6 separate regions of the Homo sapiens genome follow, and all the other regions are linked to region 6. Evidence: promoter capture Hi-C in 16 types of primary human blood cells and fetal thymus (Javierre and others, 2016). All regions are on one chromosome and are shown on one strand. The core of a region is centred on a gene start or on the middle of the fragment in contact, and the rest is flanking DNA. Distances in the headings are between cores, read along the strand shown.

Region 1 (2,700 bases), core at 92-2,591, 280 kb after region 6:
AACTGAGGTCAGAGTATCTGAACTACCAGAGAAAGCATCTCAGAAAGTGGTTGTATATGTATCCCAGCTTGCAAGTTCTTTGTGGAAATCATCCAATCTTGGGCTAATTCTTGCTGTCTCTACCACACTGTCATAGTCAACTACTTTTTACATTTTTAAAGAGGATTAGACTAAGAAAATTCACAGAATATTTACTCACTTTAAATACCTTCTGTTTTTTCCCTACATCACGGACGACAATGAAAAAAAATGAAACAAGAAAAAGAAGAAAAGAATTGTAAAGATTTAATACATTTCTTTTAAATGTTAGGTTCACCCTGACTTCTTTCAGGTTGAGGGTAAATAAGTTTGTATCTGATTTGCGAATGCGTAGTATAGCTCAATTTTGCATTCTGAGGTTCTTGTATTGGTTGGTATTTAAAACATGAATGCAATAGCGAAGATTATTGGAGCACCTATCCTGTGTCCCTTTCTCTTTATGAGACTAAATAATATTGACTCATAATCCCTATTTCATCACATAAAGGCTCATGATACCACGGAGGACCTTAGAATCTTACTTATTTTCCCAAGGAAATGCTTGAACCATCCGTATCCATTAAGGGAGTGTTTCTCTGGCGGATGCTGTTCTGGGTTCTTGGGTGTAGGTCGATATTGATCCATGAAGCCCAGGCTGGCAGAGCATGACTTAGAGTGCCTGGAGCCCCCTCCTCCCCATCACTACTTTCACTTTCCTCTCCTTCCCCAGCTAGTTACTTCTAGACACACTGACTTGTCTGATTACTGCTGAGTATAAATACATACTATCATTTTCTCTGAGAGCCATTACTTGGGAAACACTGCTTTAAGTGTTAATATGATCATATCTAACTTTTTCTAGTCAGATACATATGAAATCCTGTGGACTGTTGGTATATCCCAAATCTGAGAGAGACACCAGAACCAGCTGAGAGGATAAAGGCAGACTGTCAGGTGTCCCAGCTATCTGCTAACACAAATACTACCCTTCATTCACACATGATTGGTGCAGTGGAGTCCTGAATAAGGTGGCTGTGGAAATTGTAGAAACCCTTAACAATTCCCTTAATAAAACATTTTGGGGGACTTCTTTTTTAACATTGAGATGGGGGGCAACAAAGGATAAAGGTGTGTGTGGCTGGAGGCGAGCAAATGACATCCATTATCAACTACATTTTCTCCGAGCCTCCCATTAAATGAAACATTCTTAAATGCAATTTTTTCTCTCCCATACTCATGTTACCTTAAGTCAAGGCTTAATTCAGTGCCACTATGTAATGATCCTCTGATGGGCCACAAAAAGTACACTTAACATTTTCCCTAAAGATGTTCTACGATCCCTTGTTCTCAGAGGGCCAGATTTAATTGTTTGCTTTGGTAATAAGAAGCCATTAAGTCCACCAGTGCTTCTTGTCTTCAGAAGTTGTAGCTAAATATGCAGGTGTGGCTGAAGGGCTGCTCAGGACTGTATCCTGTGCTCTCACATCTGTTGGTTTTCATTATGGTCTCATGTAAGGAGACCTGTAGATGTGGCCCTTCCAGTTAAACAATTCAGCCCTCATTTCATGTAAATCCTTCTTCGATAAGTAATTTGGCCCTTCTCTCTTCATGGCTTATTGTTTGTCTTATTAAAAACTGTTGGTCAGGGTAGTTATGATCTTCTGGCACAGTTCATTAAGTGAAATTAGTAATTAGAAGAAAGCTAAGAAATGAATAAATTCAGAAGTGTTCCACATTTGTACATTCTTATATGATTGTGGCCAGCAGGGAGTCAGGTCTGACTACAAACACTTTTGGTGCATAAATCCTTGTGTTTTTGTGCTCTGGAGAAATAATTGTTACATGCCTAAGAAATTAATACATATTTCATGTTCTAAGTTATGGACCCACTGAAGTACCAACAAACTACAAATAAAACCAGACTAGCCCATACTCACAGATTGTTGCTATTACAGCCGCATTTGTCAGACCATCCTGCAAATATTGACCATCTCAGAATCTTCAGTCACAAAAACCAAGAGGCAGGCTTACTGTGAGAAGATATTATAGATGTATCATCTGCTCCTTCCCAGTTTTTCAGGGTTAATAGCCTACTGGGCTAAAGCATAACATGGTTCACTTCTTTATAACGGTTCTCTAATTAAATTGAGGAGGTTGATGTCCCTTCTTCAGAATGCACACATTTTACCATTAAACAAGCAGTCCACTCTATTAAGTCTGGAAAGGATCAAGCTATGCTTCAGGGACAATTGTCTAAGATGATGTTCCCTGCTAAGGAGTGTGAAGTAGCACAGCCTGGTGATGCTCCTACTGAGCCTCGACATGAAGAGACTGGCTTCTGCAGAAATATATTTGAAACCATGTCTTCTGGCATAAGAATGATGTGCTTATTTCCTTACAAGATGGCTATTTTTCATTGAGACTTAGTTTTTGGCCTTTGTTTCCTGTGTGTACGTTTCTGATATGGCGTGATTAGGCTGTTTGTTTAAATTAATCTGTGCTTAAAGGAATGTGATAGAGAATGTGAGAGCATTTCTGGAATTCTTTGGAATGCTCTGGCTATTTGCAAGAACATTCCTGCCTTCAGCTTGATTGTTTTTGGCTGACAGGTGCTGACTTTCCCCTTAATTATCAGGGTAACAAAGAGATGTGCAGTTCTCATCTATCTTCAATATTAGAAAA
Region 2 (2,700 bases), core at 57-2,556, 330 kb after region 6:
GCAAAGTGATGACACACAGGCACACACAGGTCGCATTTCCAAACAAACTTGACACAGTGAACCAAATGAAAAGAATGAATTCTTAAAGTTAACATTTTATAAATCAATTTTTTAACCTCATAAAAACTGAGAAAAATGTCTTTCTTATTCATAATTTACACCAAAACCCAATAAGGTGCATTAAAAGATTTTAGAGAAGTGAAAAACAGAAAAAGACATTCACTAAGCAGTAAGCTTTCCTTAAAACTATGGTGATTACTAAGTGACATGCTAGAATGTCACATGGCTTACTATTAATTATTAATCAATTGCTATAGACCCGCAATTTTTGAAGCTTTTCCAGACCTCGGTCTTCTTCAAAATGAAAAAAAAATATGAATGGCTCACTCCATCTGCTCATAGAAGACAGATATCAGATAAAATAAACATTTCTCCAGAATATCAGAAGAACTAGTTTTACATCTTATGAGATACCAATGAACTCAGTGAATTTTATTCACCTCAGATAAATTAATAATTCATACTAAAATATTAGTTATAAACATTAAGATTAGAAAATGACAAACTACAAGTCTGTAGACATCCTAGAAGCCCTTTATTTTCTGTTAAAAGTCTTTCAGAGCTCTTCTCTTTCCTTCCTGAAAAATTCGGTCCTAAATCGTGAAGTGGGGCAGAGCAAGGCAAGCATCCGAGGTATGTGTGTGTCGGAGATGGACTGCAGTGGTCCAGAGCCTAAGCAGGTTGAAGATGGTCCACAGCAGGGTGTCCAGTGTCAGAATCCATGCAGGCTGGGAAAGGCATCCCTGCAGGGGTGGACTGGTGAGGAGATTGAGCCTGATCAGAGTTAGGAAGACGTCCATGCAGAGGGGCAGAGGGAAGTTGGCATAGAGTATCAACCCTGAGCAGGGTGAGGAGTGAGTCCACGTGGAGGGGAAGCTGGAGAAGGACAGGAAAAGAAACTCCAAGGAAGGTGGCCTGGGGTGGGATGTCAGAGCTCGAGCAGGGAGAGAAGAATGTCCTTGTTGGGGGTGGCCTGGTGGGAGATAACCCAAGCAGGGTCAGGTGCAATGCCTCACAGAGATGTGATGTGAGCTGTCAGAGTCTGAGCAGGAGAGGAACTGTCTACGTGGAAGCAAGGGCAGCTCAGATTGTGGAATCATAGCTGTGCAGAGAAGAGGAGGCAGCCTCGCAGGGGAGGACTGATGGCAGATTACATACAGTGGGATGGATCAATTAAGTAAATACATAAAAAATAATTGAGGGGCTGAGCACGGTGGCTCATGCCTGTAATCCCAGCATGTTGGGAGGCTGAGGCGGGCGGATCACGAGGTCAGGACTTCGGGACCAGCCTGGCCAACATGGTGAAACCCCGTCTCTACTAAAAATACAGAACAAATTAGCTGGGTGTGGTGGTGATTTCCTGTAATCCCAACTACTCTGGAGGCTGAGGCAGGAGAATTGCTTGAACCCGGGAGGCGGAGGTTGCAATGAGTTGAGGTCGTGCCACTGCACTGCAGCCTGGGTGACAAAGTGAGACTCCATCTCAAAAACTAATAAATAAATAAAAATAATTGAGACAGATTTCTCACTTTTGGAGAAGGGAGTTAAAAATACAGAAAGGGAGAAAACTAGAATAAACCCAGTTGTTGGATTGGATATGTAATGTCCATGTGAACTCATGGACTCTGATAGATAATAGATATGACGATGGATAAATAGGTAGATACACAGAAAGAAAGATAGATAATTAAAGATATAAATGTATGGATATGGAAGTTATCTGTATGTGTATTACATACATATATTTCCTAGCTTTCTCCACTGAGAGAGGTGGGAGCAGTGACACTCCAGTAGCAATGAACACACCTAACACTCACATCTTGGCTTTTAAATACCATTTTCCATGCAAAAGAGCCAGGGCTCCTTGAGAAAATAGCTAATTTCAAGGATGGGACAGGAAAAATACGAAACAGGACATCTTGTGCCAGAAAGTAAGGATGTGCTAAAAGGATATTGCGAACATGTCAAAAGGAAGTAGAAATGAGTTTAAATCGGCTTCTTGTAGCCAAACTTGGGACAATTTGAGCATAAAATTAATGATAGTAATGGGTTATAACCCACTAAATGAAATAGGAAATTCATTTAGGTATAAATAAATTTATGAATAAATAGAAAATTTGGAGAGAAGCAGGATATTTATATAGTTTCAAAATATTTCCCCCAAAATAATTGTTAATTCCTAAGGAGAAAGGAAGAATTTTGCAATGGAGAAGCTTTGCAGATATCACTTCCATCAAGAAATCAAAGTAAACATCATCAGTAATGGGACTAATAAAAATGACTTGTAATCTGGTAGAATTCAGTGAGAACATGTTGTCACCTCTGAAATATTCTTGCCAAAAAGGCATAGTCTGAATCTAATCAAAAATAAATACTGAACAAAGCCAAACGGAGGGACATGCTACAAAGTAACTTGTCTGCAGAGTTTCCAGTGTCAAGGTCAGGAAAGTCAAGGAAAGACTGCAAATCTGTTCTAGGTTGAAGGGACTAGACAATTAAGGGACATGACAACCAAATGCATGATTCTGGACTGGATCTTTTTGCTCTAAAGTGTATAATTGGGGAAATGTACAAAACGTAGATGGCGTTTGAGAATTAGGTGATGCTATCACTGTGAGATATCATGGTTAATTTCCTAAT
Region 3 (2,700 bases), core at 74-2,573, 350 kb after region 6:
ACATATCTAAAATGGACTACAAATGACTCTTCTGATGGAGTATTTCTACTGGCACCTATTATGCCCTCATGCTTCATGGGCAAAGTTGTTACCATGATATGATTACCTTTCAAGTCATGCTGATAGTTTTTGGATTAAATGTACCCGTGGGATAAATGGTGATGTTTAGAACATGGGTGACCCATGCACGTTAGGTGTATTTTGCATAGGCCACAAATTGGTGAACGAAGAACCAAATGTGTGATGTAGATTTGCTTTGTGAGGGGTGTCTGGCATTTTAAAATTTTTGAATGAATTTTTAAGGGATTTCACCTAAAAATTCAGATTTCCTATTTCTCTTCAAAAATCAGAAGACTGGGCAATACTGCCTCCAAAGTCTTAAGGATGACTGACATGATAATGTTTGATCTGAGCTGTGCGGTATCTGGTTCCGTTAGATGAGACATGCATTCCTCAGTTTTCTCTAGTTCCCTATTGTGAAGCCACCACAGGGGCCTGGTGCTTTTTTATAGTATTCAATATTCCTTTGAAGCCATGCTTCTGCTAAAAGTGAAATAAATATTTGGTGTAGAGGGTACATGTTTCTTACATAGAGTCGGGCTAAATACCTGATTTAATTGGCCTTGTGAGCATTTGAGTTTACCGCTCCTGTACAATGTGTAAATGGATAACACGGTGTGGCACTAATTCTGTCATAAACATTTTTCTCATATTTTAGCATCTCTAAAATTGGGAGGCATCTTAGATTTGCTGTCACTGGGCCGCAGCCATGGGGAGTTAAATGGTTGCTGCCTGCAAACTTGGTCATAACTGTTTATGTTGTTATATCAATTGATTTTATGTCTAGTGTTGGAAAGGTGCAACACCAACAAAGGCATTGGTTTTAAGTTACTATTTAAAACATCTTCAATAAGATTATGCCATTACTCAGTATTGACACAAAAAGTGACTTTAATATGCAGAAAGACAGGGAAACAGCAACTTGCCATGACTTTGATATTAGTGAAGCAAAAGTTCCTTGTAGGAGTAATGACTGCATTTCCTTCTTTTCTTGGAAAGAGGATCCAGGTGCTTTAGGAGACCTAAGAAGGGGAAATCTTACAGGTCTATGAGGCTTTGTTACATTTTGTTACTGAGATAAGTGCAAAAGAATTCTTATTACAGGCCAAGCAGTGCAACCAAAGGCAAGAGAAAATGCCAAATAGTTTGTAATAGATAAAAAGAAATGTCCGGACAAAGGCTGTGTGGCCCACCCAGGCTTCACAGAGGACTATCATTAAGGTGTTGCATCTGGGATTGATTGGAAATGTATCCTCTTTTCTGTATTGGTACCATTAAAAAGAACCTGAGCCAGACAGTATTTAAAGCAATTGGAACACGTTTTATTCAGGAGCGATTGCAATATGGGAAAAGAAACCTCAGTATAGGACTGAGCTCAATTCTGAATACAGCAAGGACAAGTGGGGAGGTATAGCTAAGGAACAGGGTAGCGGGGGCGGGAGGGGGGTTCAGTGGATGAAAAATGACTAAGAGGACACATCAAGAGTAGGGGAAGTTTTGATAAACTAACTTAATAGGATTCTTGCTACAACTGGGCTATGCAGGTCCAGCAAAGATGGAAGGAAGGCTGAGACCTTAGGAAGAGGGCTCAGAGGAACCTGACTGAAGTTTGGTCAAGAAGAGTTTTGGTCAGTGCATAAAATAATGGTGCATTTCACCATCCATGATGTCTTAGATTCAATAAATATGATGAAACAAAGCCAGAAAATGGGAAGGCCTTGCTGCCTCTACTAACTATCAACATGGTCGCTTCTGCTACTGTCTATCTGCCTTTTTCAGAATCGCCTCCTCTCTCTTTCTGACTACTGAGTGAAGAAGAAATGGAGGCAAAATGCTTAAATGGCATGACTCTTAGGAAACAGCAAATGCTGCTGCGGTAGAAAATAGAACCAGACACAACAAACCAAGCTGCCTCTAAAATTCTAAAGGCAGACCAACCTAGACCCACACATCTGAGAATTGTCTTCCCAAGTCTTTCCAAGTTTAAAAAAGGACGTTTAATGAAAACCCCAACAGATTCATAGGAAGCCACAGCTGAAGGGCTAGGTGAACTTGGCCTGTTGTCTTACAGGCACCAAAACCTGCTGTTCAGGACAGTGACAAATCCATCCCCTGTCATGTGTTATTACTTATAGTACATGTCATGGGACAAATGTTTGTTATTAACAGAAGTTCCATGGACAAATTTTATCATCCGCTTTCTGGTCCTCTCCAATTTAACAATTTTATATTTTGCCTGCAGGCTAGGAGAGCTGAGTTTATGCCAAAGACATTTCTATTTTAGCTGTCATGCCCCAAAATGAACACTTTGTTTTAAAAAGAACTGGAAAAATAACAGGCAAGAAGAAAAAAGTAATTCCTTTTTTGACATTTTGAAAATAATTTAAAGTTAATTCTAACCAACCAATAGCTGTTTGGTTCAGTTATCTTTCCAGAAAGTGAGATACTGGGTTTAGTATTAGAAACAAATCATCTTTACTTAGCAAAAGGCCCTATTCATAACACACATGTTTAGGGAGTTGTTTAACTTTATTGCTATGCTGAAAGACACCGTGAAATGTCCTAGGGAGGTGTGCATTCATTTGAGTATTTTCTGTTTCTCACATTTATAAGCCATGCTATCAACCAAATAAACTGCTA
Region 4 (2,700 bases), core at 57-2,556, 300 kb after region 6:
CTAAGTTACTGTCTAGGAAACTCTCGTGGAAAGTAACCTAACTTACCTGAGACTTTGCTTCCCTTCTTGCAAAATAAGATAATCATGGGTGTGTGACAGTCACTGCCAGTTGCCTTGATAATACTTATTCCTCTCCTTCTCCCTATTTTGTTGGGGTGGCAATGTACCCAGCTAATAAGCTTGATTTCTCAGACTCCCTGGAAGCAAGTGGTGGTCAAGTGACACATTTCTGATGAATGAGGACTAAGCAAAGGGGAAAGTAATAGTCTTGAGGTCACAGGGATAATGGGGCTAGGCAGATTCTGAGGGGCCTTGAGGCTATTTTAGGGCTTTGGATTTTACTGAGTGAAAGGGAAGCCATAAAGCATCCTGAGAGATGACCACTCCAGATGCTATGTTGAGAGTAGACTGGAAGGGTGAGGAAGGGAGATCTGGTCAGAGAATGTTGCAGTAATCTATGTGAAAGACCATGATGGCTTAAACTAGGTTGGTGAGCTGTAGAGATGGCACAAATTGTCTGATTTTGGATAGGTGTTGGAAGGAGAGTCCACAGGATTTGAAAATAGAATAGTTGTGGAGAGTGTGATTACGATAATTAAGAAATAATCCAAGTTTTTGGCCTGAGTAACTGTCAGGAAGAGATTGCCCTCAACTGAGGGGAGGAAGGCTATAATAAAGTGTGTTTGATGGGAAAGGCTAGGAGTTCATTTTTGTTTATGGTGAATTTGATGTGTCTACTAGAAATCCAAGAGGAAATGTGAAGTAGGTAATTTTGTGTATAAATCTGGAGTTGAAGAGAGAAACCTGTGCTGAAGAAGCAAATTTAGGATTCTAACATGTGTTTAAAGCTGTGAGATTGGATGAGATCACCAGAGTTAGCATAAGTAAAGGAGAGGTGTGTGTGCCCTGTACCAATCCACCATTATGAAACACGGAGAAAAGAAAGGAGACTGAGAAGGAAGATCTAGTAAGGCAGGAGGAAAAGCAAAGGGGTGTTGTCTTGGAAGCTAAGAGAGGGGGTGCTCAACTGTGTCAAAGGCTGCTGATTAGTCACTCTAAAATTCAGACAAAGAATTTACCATTAGATCTAGCACCATGGAGGTCATAGGTCACCACAGGGAAAGCGCTTTGTGCCTGCTAGATGTGCCTTGGGGGAAATGAAAGGGGAAGAATTGGAAACAGAAAGTAAACAGGACTCTCAAGGAGTTTTAAGGCAAAGATTTAAGATAGTTGTTAGTAGGAAAGTGGAATAAGGGGCAAGAGAAAGTGGTGTGCATGTGTATATATATATGTGTGTGTTTAGAAAAATTACATAATAGTATCTTGATGAAAATAATCCCATCATCAAAATTTTGATGATGTTATAGAGAGGAAAAATGGCTAATCACTTTAAGTAGGATAGAGGAGACGTAATCTAAAACACATTTAGAAGAGCTTATACTTTTTTATGTATACCATCTGTAGTTAAGGCATGGGTGGTTATGGAAGAAACAAAAGGCAAAGTCTGTTACCTCAAAGTACATATAGTTTAGCTAGGGAAATGAGAACATTATGTACGCTGCTACCTCCTTAGAGCACGTCCCACCCCATCCTTTTTGTTTCATGCGTTGTGAAGATTCTTTGACTCACAGTGAGATGGACACACTATTATCTTTCTTTGTTATCTCTGGGCAGAGAATTTCAAAAGTGGTATGCATTTGTCAATTAAATTCACCATACCAGAGGACTACCATAATTTTACCTATATTTTATGATTGGTTTATAACAGCTTCATTGTGTTTCTTTAAACTTTCAACAAACTTTTTCCACTCCCTCTACAATTCCAGGCCGTTTGCTAGGTGCTGGGTTTGGAGAAATAGGAACTCTGTACTTAAGCAAGTAATGAGACCCTGAAATAAAGCAGTGGTGTTGACAGCAGGGTAGAGGGAAGGGGGCGTGTTAGAAAGAGATCCAGAAAGTAGAGTCAGTACAATTTGGTGATTGCCTAGAAATGAAAAATTGGTGAGACTGAGGAGTTTAACTTTATTTTGAGAATGTTCTAAATACAAATCTCAGTTTCTACAATAATTAGATTGATAATCATATATTATTACTCATTTTATTTGACTTCTTAAGCTAGTTTTGTTTGTGTTTTCCTATAAATTAATCAATTTTGTATACATTTCTCATCGTTTTACCATCAAGTTGTACGTAACATTCTGTTTACATTTTAAATATTTTGTAAATAAATTTGCATTCCTAAGATTTTACACTGGTGCTTTATCTCTTAGCTTTTTGAAAATTTTAGATGTTTCACTAACCTCTGTGTTTACCTTTTTGCTCTTTCATTTCTTGCTTTCCTTAAAATTTTCATTGATTTTTCCCTTTAGATTCTAGAATTAAATATTTACTTTCATTGTTTCCATTCTTTCTTATTTAATAATAAAAGCTTGTAAAAATACAACTTTTCCTCTGAATATAGTTTTGACCACATTCCACTTCAATTATCTGAGTAGCGTGTCATTCCTACTTGACCCAGAAGAGTGATTTTTCATATACTTTACTTTTAACATACATTGATGTTTTCACTTTTATTAATAGGTTAGAGTCTAACTTTATGGTATTCAGAGAATATATTGAATTTTTCATGGAATAATAGGTGATAAACTGAAGGCCTGCTATATAAAGTGATTCCAAAGTGATAGAGAAATAGTTTTCTGT
Region 5 (2,713 bases), core at 139-2,638, 260 kb after region 6:
CACATTACATGAAACTATCTGAGAGAATACTAGAGAAACATACAGAGATCAAGGTACTGGAGTAACTGATCTAGAAGATGTCCACACATTTTTTTGCTGCAGTAGTCCTGGATCACACTACTCAATCTGGAAAGGATCCAGAAATACATGAAGAAGTTAAAAAGATAAGCATTTTATTTAAGTAAAGATTTACTTAAGAAATAATAAATAGAATACTTAAAAGTTTAATTAAATTAATAGAATATTGTGCTTCTAATAAAAATTACACATGTGAAAAGGCAATTTTATTTAATGTTATATAGGAAAAAGAGGGTACAATATTTGATGTATGTGATAATTGCAATATGAAAAACATATAAAGTAATGTTTATTTAAAGAGAATATACAAGAACAGTGAAGGGAATATACAAAAATAGGATAATGCTTATATTAGGTGACATGCTTATGGGATATTATTTTTATGTTAATTTTAAAATAAAACAAGAACTTATTTATGTAAAGCTTTTTCTTTTAAGAGAAACTATTATATGTACATCTTTTGAGAACTGGAAAGACAAAAAGAAGAAATTGGTATTTTATTGTGAATATGATAAACTCTTTAGATGAAGTTCTCAAGGGTTGGATTTATTTGAAAGTGAATTATAACTAAATAAAAAACTAAATATAGTCCCATAACTTTAAAATTAAAAGCAGAAATTTTAAAAATGAACTTCAAGATATATGAAAGTTAACCACCTTACCATCACACCAACTAGATGTATTTATTTGTGTCACAGTATAAACAGAAATTACAGACATTGGAGATGCAAAATATTCCTCATCTAATATTTCTTTGGGAATTTTTCATCTCTGCCCCCTTCTGTGTTTCTGGGAATATAAAGACTATTTTGACATTGTTTACTGTGTTGGTCTTCTACTCCTTAATTATTAAAACAGAAAATGGTAGAAAAAGGTGTTAGAAGATCATGTTTCTTTGGGAATGTCCACCAGCTCTTAAGGAAAGTATATTTTCTAAGTCAAAATGTCACAAATATTCAAACAAGAGAAAATCTGGAGGCTGGTTATGGAAGGGAATGTTTTATCATTCGGACCAGATTTTTTTGTTCTCACTTTTCACATAGAATATCATGAAAAGTCCTTCTTCTCTGTTCGAACTACTTTTTCTTTGATGTCTTTGATAATTTTCCAATCAAACAACTAAGAGAAAAGTTTTTTTCTTTTTGTGAAGAAACTAAGGATCCTTTCCCCTAATCCAGTTAAAAGTACAAGAAGACTAAATAATTAGACAGCAGATCTCAGAATCTGCCTAAATCAGCCTTACCAAGAATCATAAAAACCTTGCACTTCCTTCTAGTTCTTCTTTCTTTATATTGGCCTATTTCCTAACAGACTATAACCTCTGGTATGACTCATAAGGTAGTTAATGTTGGAAGTTTCCTTTAATTGGAAGTGTTGATTTTAGGCCGAAAGACCCTTGAAATGCATTTAAAATTAGCATATTGGATTCATTCCTTTTAAAAAATTGACATTTGAATATATCCACTCTATGGAGAATGTTTCTTAGTTTTTCCATTCCTGTCTCCTGACTTAATGGGGAAGTACATTCATAAATATTTAGAGATAGATGCATTATAGCACACAAACTTTTAAAAATGTTAACCTATAAATAAATGCATTCAAACTTGTAAAAGCATGCATACTTCATGGAATACTATGTCAAGCCTATTTTCAATAATTCAAATATTTCAAGGCAGCCATCTAACAAAACTCAGGTCAAAACTTTTTATTTGAAAATGGAAAATATGTTGGTGTGTTTCAATGCTAGTTTCTTCCATTAAATTAAACAGTGTCCAGAAACCAATCATACAATGGGTCTTATGAAATAATGTAATATACCCTTTTTTACTTTTTAGTATCAGTATTTATTTTCTTTACTGGAATCTGTTTTAAGGGTGATTGATTGGATTACGTTTACTGCCAGCTAAAACTTGCATTTTCTCTGTCTATTAGTAGAGAACAAATAGAAAGAGGCAGTGGCAATACTAATATGAACTGAGTCAATATTAGTCTTTTGATCAATTAGAGTACATTTATGTATATAATTTTTGTAAACTACTTACAAGCTAAACTAGTAGGAAAAAATGAATAGATTTTATTTCAATGGAAGCAAACTACCACACCTATCCTTCAAGTATTCCTTGGACTGCCGTCAAAGCATGTGAAGTTTGGTTGAAAGAAAGAGAAAAATAATTGGTTGACTCTGAATTGAAGCTTAAGTAGGGTTGAGGAAATGGAATGGTTGCTACTGAGAACAGAGTTTCAGTGGATCGACTACTGTCCTAAATTCTGTAATAAATACAGTCTACACAGTCATAGATTTAAGCATGTTTATTCTATTGGATGAAAAAGATCAGGGCCCTCTTTCCAAACTCCTCTGCATTTAAAACCTTCTTCTGGTTTGATCCTATTCCGGAGTAAGGAAGTCTTTAATCTGTTTTGGGTTTTAGGAAAGAACCCATTAATCCAAAATAGTTTATCATACTTGCAGTGTGTAAAAATTTATTTGACATTAAGCAAGTTTAATTTCTAAGGTCTCTGGCTTAGAGCAAACTCTTCATGTGGGGTACAGTTTAACGTAATACCACCTAAGAGATGAAGTTACCTCTTTATGCACAAATTATGAAATTCATACATAATAGAAACTGAAGATGTC
Region 6 (2,700 bases), core at 169-2,668:
TCCAGGAATCTGAGTCAGGCTGTGCTTTGAATCATCACTCATAATCAGTCATAGCGCTAGTGAAGCATCTCAGGTTCAGACCTGAAGGACATGGTCTATAGATTCAGCATTCTTCCTGTTTGGAATCTGAGAGTTTGGGGAGTGCAAAAACTATTATTAAGAAAGAGGACTGAATCCTTACGCTTACACTTTAACCATTTAACATATGAGACTCTCAGGATCAAAGTTCACCTGTAATTGGTAATTTGGAAATTCAGACCTTATCAAAATGGCATGAGTTTAGAGCATTCAATTTACATGAAATGACTGCCAAGGTGTTTCTCAATTAGCTAACACATAGACAACTACAGGTGGAGGAAAAAACAAGTAAAAGTAGGAACTTTTTACAAGTTTTCTGAGGTTTTGCTCTCTGGTTAAGAAATGAGCAACTCTCCTTAGAGACAACGCCTGAGTTTAATATGCCTCCCACCCCCAACTCTATCAGGGGAAAGCCATTAGGATGATGTAAACAGAGGGTGATTATCTAGAAGCAGCCCTTGTTTTCTGCACGTGAGAAGCAACAAGTGTCCTTTAAAGGCGAGCACAGAACAAAACGCCCAGACCTCCACAGGCAGGTTTCCAAAACTAGCTACACAGGGGGTTTCCCCAAACACCTCAGTCCCTCACACCGAGTGCCCTTGGCTACCCTTGGCATACCCAGACCCAGATGTGGGGGAGGAAAAGCAAGCCAGTAAGAAAAGGCTGTGGAGCCAACTTCACAAGAAGGCGCTGGAGCAAGCCACAGAGCTTGGCGTTCCTCAAAGTTCTTGCATGCCTGGGGAAAAGGGGTCACCCAGGGAAAACTATTGGGCTTCCTCTTCCTAAAACTCCGAATCCTAAACCCTAACGTGGAGAGGTGAAGTTCCCCGAACTCTACACGTGTCCGCAGCGCACCCCTCACGGAAGGCGCCCGCCTCCCCGCGCGCCCTGGGGCAAGTGGGTGCCAGCCCCTGCTGCGACGGGTCGCCCAAGCTGCAGGGCGGTCGGGCCAGAACGTTCCCAGCTCTCGTCTTCTCCCGACCGAGGGGCCCAGGCAGCGTCTCCGCCATCCCCGCACCCGCCCCAGTCCCAGTCCCCGATAAGAAAGACTTGCACCGACCGTGGAGCTCGGCGTGCGCAGACAGCTGCCGGGTCCGCGCGGCGCCTGGGCCAGAGGAAGCCGGAGCCGGCGAGGGTGGGTGGCGCGGAGGGTGGCCGGTGTCCCGGGCTCCGGCGCGGCGGCGGCTTCGGCTGCACAGCTTCCCCGGCTTCAGAAAACCTCCTGGGCACTGCTTCTCCCGGGGAGGTCTCGCTGGGACCCCAATCCCCGGCGACGACCGGGTGGGATGGATGAAGCCTCTCCACCGCCTCTCCACAATCGTCAGACCAGCGGGATGACTGTACGCGCGCGCGAGGGCTCGCACGAAAAAGAAAACTCCGGAGGAACACGCCTCCAGTCTGTCCTCCCCGTCTCCTCCCAAAGCTCCAGACCTTCCACTCCACTCTGGGACCGCAAGAGCGTCCTAACCTTCCAGCTATCCTGGGACGCGGCCACTAAAAAGCACAAAGCTGCCGCCCCCTTCCAGGCCCTGAAGGGCAGGAGTCTTTTTTAACTATTTCCTTCCTGAAAGAAAAGGTGGGGGATGTGGAGGAGAGAGGGTAGAGTTTGACAGACAAGACTCAGAATTCCGAAAGGCCTTGCAGAGGAACCCATCCTCTTAGTGCAGGCAGATTTGATCTGTGACGGAACAACTGGACACAGAGCCAGGGCCCACGGGTGGTTTCTTCTCCGTCTTCCCTGCCGCCTTTGCTTGGCTTGCGTGCTCCCTCTTAAGCTTAGAGGCCGTTGAGGAGCCGAAGTGGACAGCAGTTTACTGGATCAGGTGGTTTGCTTCTATCTTGTCCCTTGTAGCCAGCATCCCACGGCTACAGACCTCCAGCCCAGGGCAAAGAAGGAGCCTCAGGAGAGACTATGGAAGGTTCCAGCGCGTGGCTCCGTGAAACCTCAAGAAATTCAAACAATGAAGAAGCCGACCTTACAGAAAGTGGGTCTCAACGTCTTTATCACGGCAGATACTTTATCCTAAATTGGGGGTGGGAGAGGAGATGAGGGACAAAGGCCACTGCCTGTGACATGTGAGTAAAAACTGGGGTCTCCTCAGGGAAGGCCTGCCTTGGAGTCCTTCAGTGCACTGCTAGAGTCAGCACATGGTAGAAGTGTGAGGTTGGAGCACTGGTCATGTTATATCCCATGCTGTTCCGGCTATCTGCTGCAGCTAAACAAATTACTATAAAACGTAGTGGCTTAAAATAACAACACTCATTTACTCTGCTTATCAGTCTGCAGTTTGGGCAGAGCCTGTCTGGGACAGCTCGTTTTTGCTCCATGTAGCAGGGGCTGGAGGATCCACTTCCAAGACAGTTCACTTGCTTGGTGTTGAGTGTTAGTTTTTCTCCACGTGCGTCTCTCCACAAAGACTTGTGGAGACTTGTGGTTTGGGCTTCCTCACAGCATGGTGGCGGGGATCCAAGAGTGAATGTCCCCAGAGACAGAAAGTGGAAGCTGCCAGTTTCTTAAGGGCTGGGCCCAGAAACTGGCACCGTGTCATTTCTGCTTGATTCTATTAGTCAAGCAGTCACAAATCCCAGATTGAAGGTGAGGGTATATAGAGCCCAACCCTT

Evidence for each region. The method cuts DNA at HindIII sites, captures the fragments that hold promoters and counts their contacts. A CHiCAGO score of 5 or more calls a contact.
Region 1: a fragment that was not itself captured here is called in contact with the fragment with the promoter of EDNRA in region 6 in 1 of 17 cell types (endothelial precursors); the score reaches 6.6 in endothelial precursors.
Region 2: a contact is called between a fragment that was not itself captured here and the fragment with the promoter of EDNRA in region 6, in 1 of 17 cell types (endothelial precursors). The highest score is 6.8, in endothelial precursors.
Region 3: a contact is called between a fragment that was not itself captured here and the fragment with the promoter of EDNRA in region 6, in 1 of 17 cell types (endothelial precursors). The highest score is 5.1, in endothelial precursors.
Region 4: a contact is called between a fragment that was not itself captured here and the fragment with the promoter of EDNRA in region 6, in 1 of 17 cell types (endothelial precursors). The highest score is 6.6, in endothelial precursors.
Region 5: a fragment that was not itself captured here is called in contact with the fragment with the promoter of EDNRA in region 6 in 1 of 17 cell types (endothelial precursors); the score reaches 5.1 in endothelial precursors.

Annotation. Positions count from the first base shown.
Region 1 is chr4:147,198,462-147,201,161 of GRCh38, reverse strand. No RefSeq gene overlaps it. Among named protein-coding and RNA genes, the nearest start is that of MIR548G, 140 kb to the left of the region's middle. The HindIII fragment of the contact is 3,290 bases long and covers 1-2,700 here.
Region 2 is chr4:147,147,420-147,150,119 of GRCh38, reverse strand. No RefSeq gene overlaps it. Among named protein-coding and RNA genes, the nearest start is that of MIR548G, 200 kb to the left of the region's middle. The HindIII fragment of the contact is 1,939 bases long and covers 337-2,275 here.
Region 3 is chr4:147,129,420-147,132,119 of GRCh38, reverse strand. No RefSeq gene overlaps it. Among named protein-coding and RNA genes, the nearest start is that of TTC29, 180 kb to the right of the region's middle. The HindIII fragment of the contact is 3,525 bases long and covers 1-2,700 here.
Region 4 is chr4:147,180,639-147,183,338 of GRCh38, reverse strand. No RefSeq gene overlaps it. Among named protein-coding and RNA genes, the nearest start is that of MIR548G, 160 kb to the left of the region's middle. The HindIII fragment of the contact is 2,249 bases long and covers 182-2,430 here.
Region 5 is chr4:147,219,735-147,222,447 of GRCh38, reverse strand. No RefSeq gene overlaps it. Among named protein-coding and RNA genes, the nearest start is that of MIR548G, 120 kb to the left of the region's middle. The HindIII fragment of the contact is 1,770 bases long and covers 504-2,273 here.
Region 6 is chr4:147,479,815-147,482,514 of GRCh38, reverse strand. EDNRA (endothelin receptor type A) reads right to left here and starts at 1,418. Exons shown (of 8, transcript NM_001957.4): 1 at 1,139-1,418. RefSeq lists enhancers at 519-598, 629-728. The HindIII fragment of the contact is 2,424 bases long and covers 1-1,855 here.